3 separate regions of the Homo sapiens genome follow, and all the other regions are linked to region 1. The links are contacts of gene promoters, found by promoter capture Hi-C in human tissues and cell types (Jung and others, 2019). All regions are on one chromosome and are shown on one strand. The core of a region is centred on a gene start or on the middle of the fragment in contact, and the rest is flanking DNA. Distances in the headings are between cores, read along the strand shown. Region 1 holds the start of SMG8 (SMG8 nonsense mediated mRNA decay factor). Region 2 overlaps DHX40 (DEAH-box helicase 40). Region 3 overlaps LINC01476 (long intergenic non-protein coding RNA 1476).

Evidence for each region. Contacts are between HindIII fragments. The study calls those that stand out against the background at their distance.
Region 2: a fragment that was not itself captured here is called in contact with the fragment with the promoter of SMG8 in region 1 in 1 of the 25 tissues and cell types used here (dorsolateral prefrontal cortex).
Region 3: a contact is called between a fragment that was not itself captured here and the fragment with the promoter of SMG8 in region 1, in 1 of the 25 tissues and cell types used here (dorsolateral prefrontal cortex).

What each region holds. Positions count from the first base shown.
Region 1 is chr17:59,207,314-59,211,391 of GRCh38, reverse strand. SMG8 (SMG8 nonsense mediated mRNA decay factor) reads right to left here and starts at 1,357. Exons shown (of 4, transcript NM_018149.7): 1 at 1-1,357. The coding sequence starts at 1,340. RefSeq lists an enhancer at 1,479-1,548. The HindIII fragment of the contact is 6,268 bases long and covers 88-4,078 here.
Region 2 is chr17:59,604,502-59,608,579 of GRCh38, reverse strand. It overlaps DHX40 (DEAH-box helicase 40), which reads right to left. Exons shown (of 18, transcript NM_024612.5): 16 at 3,396-3,465; 17 at 2,906-3,134; 18 at 235-1,547. The coding sequence ends at 1,408. Among named protein-coding and RNA genes, the nearest start is that of CLTC, 13 kb to the left of the region's middle. The HindIII fragment of the contact is 7,902 bases long and covers 1-4,078 here.
Region 3 is chr17:59,496,028-59,500,105 of GRCh38, reverse strand. All of the region lies in intron 2 of LINC01476 (long intergenic non-protein coding RNA 1476), which reads left to right. It overlaps LOC124904040 (a long non-coding RNA gene), which reads right to left. Exons shown (of 3, transcript XR_007065867.1): 3 at 664-987. Among named protein-coding and RNA genes, the nearest start is that of LINC01476, 29 kb to the left of the region's middle. The HindIII fragment of the contact is 4,149 bases long and covers 1-4,008 here.

The sequences.
Region 1 (4,078 bases), core at 108-2,607:
TTCTGATAAGTAGGAAGTTCAAAATGGGAAGGCTGTGGGTTCCTGCCCACACTGTCATCGAAACCTTTCTTGCTTAGAACTAGCTCCACATGCTGCCATAGGAATTCCCGAAGAGTGAAATCCACTAGCTGGCCTGAAGAACTGGAACTGCTGCTGTCAATGTGAAAGGAAAGTTGTTGTCGGCTGTGCTGCCTCATCACCTGGTATCGCCTAGGCCCAGAAAGGGGTGCAGGCACCAGCAAAGATTCCGGGTCCTTCACAGTACAATGACTCCTAAGTTGGTCCAGCAACATACCTACTGGGTCCTCCTCCTGGCTTCCCGGTACTATGTACACGAAAGCTTGGTTGGCAGGCACAGTAAAGAGGCAGTTGATGCTCTGATTAGTCAAGACACGACTCTTCCGGAAGATTCTATAGATCTGGTCCTCCAGGGCATGCTGCAGCCTCCTTTTGGGAGAATGTTTCTTGGGCTTGTCTGGATGAGCTGGGTCTTGGTTCCGAGGAGGTTCTACCTTGAGGGCTCCATTGAGTTGAAAGAGGAAAAGGAGTCTAGGTGGGCAAGGTCGGCAGTTTAGCTTCCAGTCTTTGCCAACTGGACAATCCTTAATGGCTGTTTTAAGGAGCGGCAGGACCTTCTGTCTCAGCCCATCCAGGGCTCTGAATACTCGATCATAAGTGATATCAAAGGAACAAGTGGGATGGACCAGAAGCAAGATATGACAGACAGAGAATAGGTAAAGGAGACTGAGGCACTGCAGCTTCTCTTGATGCTTCCAGAACTCGTGTGCTTCTGCATGAGGTAAAGAGAGTCCACCTCCAGCTTCCCCGCTCTGAAGAGCCCGACAAGCCCGGAGAAGCTGTGAATTGTCACAGATGGAGGTGAGGAGAAGATACAGAACTTTGCTTTCCTGACTGTAGTAGGCCTGCAGAAGGCTGTAGTCCTGGGAGCCTGCCTCAGTTCGGTTACCTTCCGCGACAGCTCCACTTCCCCGAACTGAACCCCCGGCTGCAGCCCCAGGGTCCTCGGCTCCACCGGCCTCACCCACGGCGCCAGCCTCAGTTCTGATTCCAGGTCCTGGATCCCCAGGATCTTGGTGGCGAAAGAGAGGAAAGACCTGTCGGTCGCACACCGTATTCACAAGAGAGAACTTCTCGGAATTCAGGCGTAGAGCCGTCTTGCCGAAGATTCCCACAACGCAGATCTCATCCTCCCGCCATGGAGGCTCCGGTCCGCCAGCCGCGCTCCCTCCGCCCTCAGTAGGGGACCCTCCGGGACTTTCAGAGCCCATCCAGGCTGATGCTCCCATTAGAAGGTCTCGCAAGCTCACGGGACCAGCCATAGTGCAGAGCGTTCTCTAGAGTCCTTCCGGTCCGTTAGTAAAACCGACCGGCTTTCGTCCAATTTTGAAATCCTTCCTCCGCTTCTTCAGTTCCTGCTTTCCCGTCACTTGAGTTCCGCCTCCTCTTCTCCTCTCCTAGTTTGTTTCCTCAACTGTAGGAATTGAGATATCAAAAACAAAAAACAAAAAAACAAAACAAAACTGGGACTACTGCGGTGGCTCACGCCTGTAATCCTAGCACTTTGGGAGGCCAAGGCGGGCGGATCACCTGAAGTCAGGAGTTCGAGACCAGGCTGGCCAACATGGTGAAACCCCATCTCTACTAAAAATACGAAAATTAGCCGGGCGTGGTGGCGGGCGCCTGTAATCCCAGCTACTCGGGAGGCTGAGGCAGGACAATCGCTTGAACCCGGGAGGCGGAAGTTGCAGTGAACCGAGATCACACCATTGCACTCCAGCCTGGGCAACAAGAGCGAAAACCGTCTAAAAAAAAAAAAAAAAAAAAAAAAAAAAGCAAAAATTAGGCGTGGTGGCGCATACCTGTAGTTCCAGCTGCTCAGGAGGCTGAGGCAGGAGAATTGCTCGAACCAGGAGGTGGAGGTTGCAGTGAGCCGAGATCACCCCGCTGCACTCCAGCCTGGGCGACAGAGTGAGACTCCGTCTCAAAAAAAAAAAAAATTGCGAAATATCTTTGTATGTAAATTATAACTTGCAGAACCTCTCTAACTAGAAGGCATATTGACAAATAGCTGCCAGGATAAAACTTACAACCAGATTTAAATGTATAATTATAACGTTTATTATTCTGGGGTTTTGTAAAAAATAAAAATCTTTGAATCTAAAAAAATTATCTATAGCACTATACAATAACATGACTGAATCTTTAAAATAAATGTTGATTGAAAGAAATCAGAAACAAAAGTGTATATACCCTATAATTCTATTTTTTTTTTTTTTTTTTTTTTTTTTTGGAGATGCAGTCTTGCTCTGTGGCCAGGCTAGAGTTCAGTGGCGCGATCTCGACTCACTGCAACCTCCGGCTCCCCGGTGCAAGTGATTCTCTTGCCTCAGCCTCCCAAGTAGCTGGGATTACAGGTGCGTGAGACCACACCCAGCTAACTTTTGTATTTTTAATAGAGACAGGATTTCACCATGTTGGCCAGGATAGTCTCAATCTCCTGATCTCATGATCTGCCCGCCTCGGCCTCCCAAAGTGGTGGGATTACAGGCGAGAGCCACTGCGCCAGGCCTGATTTTATTTCTATAGAGTTCAAAAGCAAGCAAAATAAACCATTGCATTTAGGGGTGTGTTCTTACTAAAAGCAAGGAAATATTTATTGTACCAAGTAGGTCAGTGATTACTTAGTGAGGGAAGGGATTATGATATAATATATATATTATATATATACATAATAATATATATTACACATATACATAATAATATATATTATATATATACATAATAATATATATTATATATATTTTGAGACAGAGTCTTGCTCTGTTGCCCAGAGTGGAGTACAGTGGTGCAATCTAAGCTCACTGCAAACTCCACCTCCCAGGTTCAAGTGATTCTACTGCCTCAGCCTCCCAAGGAGCTGGGATTACAGGTGCACCACCATGGGCGGCTAATTTTTGTATTTTTAGTAGAGATGGTGTTTCACCATGTTGGCCAGGCTGGTCTCGAACTCCCGACCTCACATCATCCACCCACCTCGGCCTCCCAAAGTGCTGGGATTACAGGTGTCAGCCACCACACCTCGCCTCCGGCCTAAAATTTTTTTTTTTTTTTTTTGTGAGACAGAGTCTCACTCTGTCACCCAGGCTGAAGTGCAGTGGTGCTATCTGGGATCACGGCAACCTCCATCTCCTATTCCCTGTCTCCGTCTCCTCAAGCAATTCTTCTGCCTCAGCCTCCCAAGTAGCTGGGATTACAAGCACGTACCACCACGCCCACCTAAACTTGTATTTTTAGTAGAGATGGGGTTTCCCCACGTTAGCCAGGCTGGTCTCGAACTTCCAACCCCAGGTGATCTGCCCACCCCGGCCTCCCAAAGTGCTGGGATTATAGGTTTGAGCCATCACGCTCGGCATTGATTTTTTAATTCATATATTTTCTATACTTACTATATACTTTTTTGTTTTTTTGAGACAGAGTCTCACTCTGTTGCCCAGGCTGGAGTGCAGTGGCGTGATCTCAGCTCCCTGCAAGCTCTGCCTCCCGGGTTCATGCCATTCTCCTGCCTCAGCCTCCCAAGTAGCTGGGACTACAGGCGCCTGCCACCACGCCCGGCTAATTTTTTGTATTTTTAGTAGAGACCAGGTTTCACCGTGTTAGCCAGGATGGTCTTGATCTTCTGACCTCATGATCCACCTGCCTTGGGCTCCCAAAGTGCTGGGATTACAGGCGTGAGCCACTGCGCCCGGCCAATATATACTTTTCTATAGGTATTATTATTTCTAGTTAAAAAAAAAGGTTAAAAAGGGAAAAACCAAAACTTTTATTAATCTTTATTTAAAGATGCAAGGTAGAACACATTTTAACACTGTACAATGGCAGTAGCAGCTTTGCAAATGTTTATCTATATGGACTTTTTTTTCCTGCCTGGCTTCGTTATATAGCAAAGCATTTTTCTTTTTTCTTTCTTTTTTTTTTTTTTTTTTTTTTGAGACAGCATCTTGCTCTGTCACCCAGCAGGCTGGAGTGCAGGTGGTATGAACACTGCTCGCTGGAGCCT
Region 2 (4,078 bases), core at 473-2,972, 400 kb before region 1:
AAAAAAAAATTAACAAATTAAAACACTGGAAAGGTTTAGAGAAACCATCATCACTCACCTTACTTTAGGGACAAATACATGAATTTGGGTCCTTGTGATTTTTGATAAAGATTTCAAGTTTCTATTATTGAACATAAAACTAGATTCCAAAGGAAATAACTAGAAGAGTTACCGATAAAAAATTTAGATTCTTAATTTTTACACAAAATATCTAAAAACACACATTATACTGTCTTTTGAATTTTAATGACACTAATAGCTTTATTTAACAAACACTGAGTGACTACTATGTGCAAAGCACTATGCTAGGTGCATGAAAGATACAAAGATGAAAAAAGACACAGTCCCTGCCCACAAGGAGCGTATAATCTAGTGAGGGAGACAAATACACAAATAACTAGAATACAAGGCAGTAAACAAGAGTGGGCAAGTGCTGAGTGTGGCCTGAGTGTGATACTAACTAGCCTCAAGGTTCCAATTTGAAACACGATGAAATAGTGTTGTCTGCTTCGAAAATCCCATCCCAAGTTTGGCATAATGGAAGTTAAATGGCCCTACCCAAACAGGTGGAAATAACAGAGTAGGCCAGGTGGAGGCGCTGTTTGAAAGTACTATCACACCTACATACATGGTGCTGATATAAGTACGTAGGTACAGCTAAAAAAGAACTTATATATATATATATATCATATATATATATATCATCTGTCCTTTGGTTAATGGCTATAGCTACTGTTTTAAACAATATACTTTTATATAAAAAGGAATTTGTATAATCCCAGAAAAATCAATTTAAGGATTAATATTAATTCAAGAAAGAATCCTGCCATAGGCAATTTTATTTACTAATTGATTAAGTCTTTTCTCTAAATATCTATAAAGCTCTGTAGCAATTAAACAGTTAGACATCTAAGTATTGCTGAGTAGAAACCTCTTATGTTCAGCCTTCTGAAATAAATGGTCACATACCTGATATATAGCACTATTCTAACAGCAACAAGAAGGCCTTAAAGAGATTTTAAGAAAAATAATTTTTAATGCTTCAATGCAAATGGAGTACACGCTGATTAAATACAACTCAATGTTCTTTGAAAACATCTCAATGACAGCGTTTGATACCAGTTAAGGCCAGCAAAATTGTACTGAGGAAAATATTATTACATGTACTGTCTTTCATTGGTTTCATGTATCATTGCTTATGACTATGGCAACCAAATCTTTTCTTTGACAACTGCATTTATGGGAACTGATGAGCTTTGATTTATGAGCTTTGATTTGCTTTTAGTTCATAGGCCAATAACAAGTGCTGACCACCTCCTCTTGGTAGTGCTGTCTGAAATAACTGGCAAAGTAGAAGCACATTTCCTGGCTCCTTTTCCCACTTCCTGAATTGGAGGGTTCACCACCTTAGCCTGTTTCCTTTCGTGTGTCACTGTGGTCCTGGGTCCTCTGCTGCTTTCTCTCAAGGAAACGAGCCCGTGCATCAGATATGGATTTGTCATCATTTCTTCTTTGCATTTTCTTTAAGACGTCTTTCGATATTCCATCTGAAAACATTACAAATTAATCCAATAAAACTTAGCTTTGAGATTCAGTACTAGAAATGTTAAGAGAAAGAGAAGCCCTGATTTTTCAGTGTTAACAAAGTAAAAACAATAAAGAGAAAAATTAAATTTTGCCCTTTCAAAAGCAATGTAGTCTATGGTTACAAAATTAAGAGCACCAAGGCCAATGAGTCAGAAAAACTGACCCTAATTCAAGCATGTGGCAGTGTTATTACACTGTAATAGAACACCTAGTGGCTAAGATTTCTTTTCTTTTTTTTTTTTTTTTTGAGACGGAGTCTCACTCTGTCGCCCAGGCTGGAGTGCAGTGGCGCAATCTCGGCTCACTGCAAGCTCTGCCTCCTGGGTTCACGCCATTCTCCTGCCTCAGCCTCCCGAGTAGCTGGGACTACAGGCGCCCGCCACCACACCCAGCTAGTTTTTTGTATATTTAGTAGAGACGGGGTTTCACCGTGTTAGCCAGGATGGTCTCGATCTCCTGACCTCGTGATCCGCCCGCCTTGGTCTCCCAAAGTGCTGGGATTACAGGCGTGAGCCACCATGCCTGGCCTCCCTAGTGGCTAACATTTCTAAAGATTTTTCTATGATTTATTCGGCAAAACTCTTCACCATTCCATTTTGCAGTGATGTCAAATAAAGAAAATACAATATGCTTCATCATTCAGCCTCAAAAAGCTTTACTAAGAAGTTTTCTGTGTATGTGAGCTGAAAAACTTTCTGTCCTATTTCAGTACCACAACTATTTATGCCTCCCAACCAGGGTCCTAATTATTTCATAGAAAAAGCCCCTTGGATATACAAACTTAGCCAGGCGTGGTGGTGCATGCCTGTAATCCAGCTACTCAGGAGGCTGAGGCAGGAGAATAGCTTGAACCGGGAGGCAGAGGCTGCAGTGAGCCAAAATCACACCATTACACTCCAGCCTGGGCAATAAGAGCAAAACTCCGTCTCAAAGAAGAAAGAAAAAGAAAGAAAGAAAGAAAAAGCCCCTTGGAAACAAAGGGGATTCTGAGTTAATAATGCATAAATCATCACTTTTTTTTTTTTAGAGATAGTGTCTCACTCTGTCACCCCCAGGCTGGAGTGCACTGGTGAAATCACAGTTCACTGCAGCCTCAAACTCCTGGGTTCAAGCGATCCTCCTGCATCAGCCTCCCAAGTCACTGGGACTACAGGTGCACACCAACATGCCTGGCTAATTTTTATTTTTATTTTGCTAGAGATGGGATCTCACCACATTGCCCAGGTGGGTCACAACATTTTTATAAACAAAAATAGTGAAGTACTACTGGGAAGCAGTATGGCATAGTGGTTAAGAGTAGAACAAATGATTTACTCACCCTTTAGCTGCTTTACATTTTCCTTATTTGTCCATCTCCTTCTTGCATCTTCTCTCACTTCACGTCGGGCCACACTGCTCAAATCATGTGCATTAAATTCATGCAACTTGGGTAACAAGTCTCTTACCCATTCATAACGGATTGGGCATACAATTCTTGCGTAGACTTTGGTGGTAACCAATACCTCATGAAAAATGATCCATTCAAGTTTGGTTTCCTGTTCATGAAGCTATACAAAACATTTCTTTTAATGATGGTAACTCAATAACCTGCCCTATTCCACATTAAACCAACCAAATAGTCCAAATCCTTCTCAATTAATTCCTATCTTCTTCAAACAGGAGGCACAGGCCAACCAATACCCTTATAGATCTATGTAATATAGATATATGTAAATTTAACTCCAAAGTGAAAAGTAGAAGACATTTGTATATTACTTATTTCTACAACTTTACAAATTTCTTCCCTTTATTAAAAATGAAGTACTTACTGCTGAGGAAGGATGAATGTGAACTGGGCTTCCACGACCATCCATTGTGCAAAACGTTCTCCCAACAGATCTATAAACAGAAAAACAAAATGATAAAGACTACAACAGTAAAGCAATGAAGTAAATGGAGCATTACATTCAGCAATGAACAATTACAATATGTTCTACTACAAACAGCATTATAAGCAGAGGTTTACATTTATTCAACTGTCACTACAAGCTCTCTACCAATTCATCTTAAATTAATTATACAGGTTAAACAGTCACTACAATTAGGTATAAGTCACTACAATTAGGTATAAGGAATCAGTACAAATATTAACAATAATCTATGAGCTTTGAGAGCCAGGAACTTTATTAAAAAGTCAAAACTAAAATTCAAATAAATTAGCTAGACTTCTCAAGATCACCAGCGCTAACGCATGGTAAAACCAAGTCCTAAACAGTTCTTCTGACTTAAATATGGTTTCTTTATGTTATACTATGCTGCATCTCTTTTTAAAGGGATGATTTTTTCACTACTCTAAAACTTGACAATTAATCTATCATTTTTCCGATTCATGCCCTTATTTTCTTCTACATTACCCTACCTAAATGTCATTCCAAAAAACTTGTCAAAAAAATAAACCTAGTTCATTTGTCATAATTTATTTCCTATAGTACTTTGTATATATTCATAGTAT
Region 3 (4,078 bases), core at 685-3,184, 290 kb before region 1:
GGCGGGGCAGAGGCGCTCCCCACATCCCAGACGATGGGCGGCCGGGCAGAGACGCTCCTCACTTCCTAGATGTGATGGCGGCCGGGAAGAGGCGCTCCTCACTTCCCAGATGGGATGGCGGCCGGGCAGAGACGCTCCTCACTTTTCAGACTGGGCAGCCAGGCAGAGGGGCTCCTCACATCCCAGACGATGGGCGGCCAGGCAGAGAGGCTCCTCACTTCCCAGACGGGGTGGCGGCCGGGCAGAGGCTGCAATCTCGGCACTTCGGGAGGCCAAGGCAGGCGGATGGGAGGTGGAGGTTGTAGCGAGCCGAGATCACGCCACTGCACTCCAGCCTGGGCGCCATTGAGCACTGAGTGAACCAGACTCGGTCTGCAATCCCGGCACCTCGGGAGGCCGAGGCTGGCGGATCACTCGCGGTTAGGAGCTGGAGACCAGCCCGGCCAACACAGCGAAACCCCGTCTCCACCAAATAAATACGAAAACCAGTCAGGCGTGGCGGCGCGTGCCTGCAATTGCAGGCACTCCGCAGGCTGAGGCAGGAGAATCAGGCAGGGAGGTTGCAGTGAGCCGAGATGGCAGCAGTATCGTCCAGCCTCGGCTCGGCATGAGAGGGAGACCATGGGGAGAGGGAGACCATGGGGAGAGGGAGAGGGAGCACCCTTCTACTTTAAAAAGACGTTAAACCTTAACATCATATAATCCATATATTCCATACCTAGTCATTAGTTGCTATTTCACAAAAGTAAAGTCACCAACATGTCACTTATGTAATATTTATTTCTGTTCCACTGCCCCTGCCTGCAACTGTTTAGAAGCTCTTCCTATCCCTGTCCTTGCTTCCAACATTGCACACATTTTCTTCTCGTGCTTAAAAATAAATGTCAAGTTCTTGATCTTTTGTTAAAGATTCATTGCCAAAGATGGTTTCACAGCAGGAGCCTTCCTAGGGAGAGAGTTGGCTCACATTCCTGCTAAGAATGTAACCTGGGAATGATGGAAAAATAATTATAATCAATGTCAGAGAGCATATGGGTTTCTACCGAGAAGGCTGCCAAGTAGGACCTGCACTAATCCTTTCCATCCATTATCAGCCAGTTGACTCTAGCAGAAAAATTCCTCATATTTGGATAAATGAAAGTCCAAATCTCACACATATTTCTCCCACATCTGAGAGGTTTCTGAGTGAAACCAGTGAATGCCTTGCATTTCTGAAGCTTAGTTTCCATAAAACTACATTATTGTTTGTTTTCTTGTCTGTAAATGTGGGATTGCCTTATTTCTACCACATCCTTTAATGTAGGTGACCCACTAAGGTCAGTACACACATAGTGAAAGAAATGAGGCCATTCTAATATGTACATTGAAAAGAACCACATTTTAAAAGCTTTGTGCTGATGTGTGTTTCGGCTGGATATACCCCAACAGTATGTGTCGTTTTCTAAAAGAGGAATTATGCTGAGTTAATTAAGTGGAAGCAGAAACACCTGGTGCATATCATTATGGCATAAGGCCCTGGGTGATTTAATTAATATCTTTATTGTTACCAAGTGGCTTTCCAAGTATTTTTCCACTGAACTTATATTTTACTTTGCCCTCCACCCTGCTTCTCTTCAGATATATGCCAGGTGGTATATAGTTCCTTTTTTTTTTTTTGAGACAGTCTAGCTCTGTTGGCCGGGCTGGAGTGCAGTGGTGTGATCTCAGCTCACTGCAACTCCTGCCTCTCGGGTTCAAGCGATTCTCGTGCCTCAGCCTCCCAAGTAGCTGGGATTACAGGCACATGCCACCAAGCCAAGCTAATTTTTGTATTTTTAGTACAGATGGGGTTTCACCATGTTGTCCAGGCTGGTCTCGAACTCCTGGCCTCAAGTGATCCACCCATCTTGGCCTCCCAAAGTACTGGGACTACGGGCGTGAGCCACCGTGGCTGGCCGGTATACAGTTCCTTTTAGGAGAGAATTTTGTCTCTGTAGAATCTCTGAATACAGGCAAACCAGACATGAATTTGAATTCTCCTTATAAGCTTCTGTGCTTAAAGGATTAGAGCAACTTGCCTCTTTTCTACATAGCAAAAAGATAAATTTCAGCCCGCCCTAAACCAACATTCTCTTATTTTCTAAGCATCAATAAATCAATAAACACAATAAATATGGCTTCTTGTTAAAAAAAAAACACAGAGTAGACAAAGCAGGGGCATTCTGATTTAGAATAGATGATTCTTCCAATATTTAGAACACCTCAAGCAAGGAGAAAAATGAACTGGAAATGAGGTTGCTGTTTGCTAGTATGGAGTTCCATTCGTAGATCTAGCACTCAACACAGATACAATAAATTGGGCAGCGGCCTCTCAGTCCTCTCTGCTCCAGTGGAAATATTCGGTATGGCTGTCCAGCTCTCAAGTCATATTCTAAAACAAAAACTTTAAAAGACGAATCATATATTGATATTGTGATGCCACTCAGCCATATAACTTGGCCCCAGATCCCACTGCTAGAGTTATAAAGATGAAATGATTTTTGGCTGGGAACAGTGGTCACACCTGTAATCCCAGCACTTTGGGAGGCTGAGGCAGGTGGATCACTTGAGTCCAGGAGTTTGAGACCAACCTGGGTAACATGGTGAAACCCTATATCTATTAAAAAAAAAAAAAAAAAGAGAGAGAGACTGGGCATGGTGGCTCAAATCTGTAATCCCAGCACTTTGGGAGGCTGAGGCAGGTGGATCACTTGAGCCCAGAAGTTTGAGACCAGCCTGGCCAACATGGTGAAACACCATCTCTACTAAAAATATAAAATTAGCTGGGTGTGGTGCTGTGTGCTTGTAGTCCCAGCTACTCGGGAGGCTGAGGCAGGAGAATGGCATGAACCTGGGAGGCGGAGCTTGCAGTGAGCAGAGATCGTGCCACTGCACTCCAGCCTGGGTGACAGAGTGAGACTCTGTCTCAAAAAAAATAATAATAATAAAGAAAGAAAATGAGGGATCTACCCCAATGCTGCATTATCAGCTTTCAGGAAGACTTGTATTTTACTTCTTATTCACCCGCCCTCCCACCTTACCAGCATATATCTATAAAACCTATGAAAACTTCAGGGTGACCAATATCCCTAAAATACACCTGGGTGCAATTCTGTATTTGTAGAGTAAAATGAGTCAGATATGGACATCCTCACACAGCAACTATTCAGAGGAGGATGAAAACCAGAACTCAAAGACTTAAAGCATTTTTAACTGAGAAAAAAAATTCTAGCTATATCTCTGCAACTGGTTTGACAGAACCTAGAAATCAAATTTGCCAAATACTGGTCCCATGTGTTTTGTGAGGATACTACGTATATCATCAAAAGGCTCCATAGTTCGTTTGGTGTGGTGGCCAAATAAGATTATAGAAGTTTTCTTTTTCTTGAGTAGGCAGTACTGTGCTTATTAATAATAAAAACACTTCACCCACTTGTTCAGTATAAAGGCAGGCTCTAACGCCCTAGTGAATTGTGTCGTCAAGTTTATTAGTAAGTTGATTATTTAGAAATCAAAATTCCATAAACCCAGTGGTATAAATGGTAGTTAAATTCCAAGCATAAATCCCAAATAGGATTGACTTCTAAGTCATGGGAGCAAAACCAAGGCTGAGTTCCAGCTGCTGGGAGTGAACACCTGTGCCGGTTCTTCTCCATTTATCATCTGCTCAGTGCTCTGGAAGGCCAGCTTCCTACAGACTGATTTGTTCACCTGGGCTCCCTTGCTGGCTGGCTTTCAGTTGGCTTCAGCCAAGAAGGGGCACAGACTAGAAACAGGAGATGGGAGAAGGTGGGGTATTTCTTCATCTGTTCCTCTCCTGCTTAGCTGCCAGCAACTGGCAATGGCTATGTCCCTTCAAGACTATATTTCTAGCTGGGAAGCCTCTTCCACAGCCCCAGCCCTTACTGGGCTCTGAGAATATGGTTCCTTCCCTTTGGCCCCCAGTCTTGGGGGTATAACAGCTCCTTGCTCTTGCTCCTCGCTGGTATCTGAACATCCTGTGTTGGTTTTCTTAACCCTGTCTATGCCTCAGAGAATAATCTCTTCATTACAGTTTCTT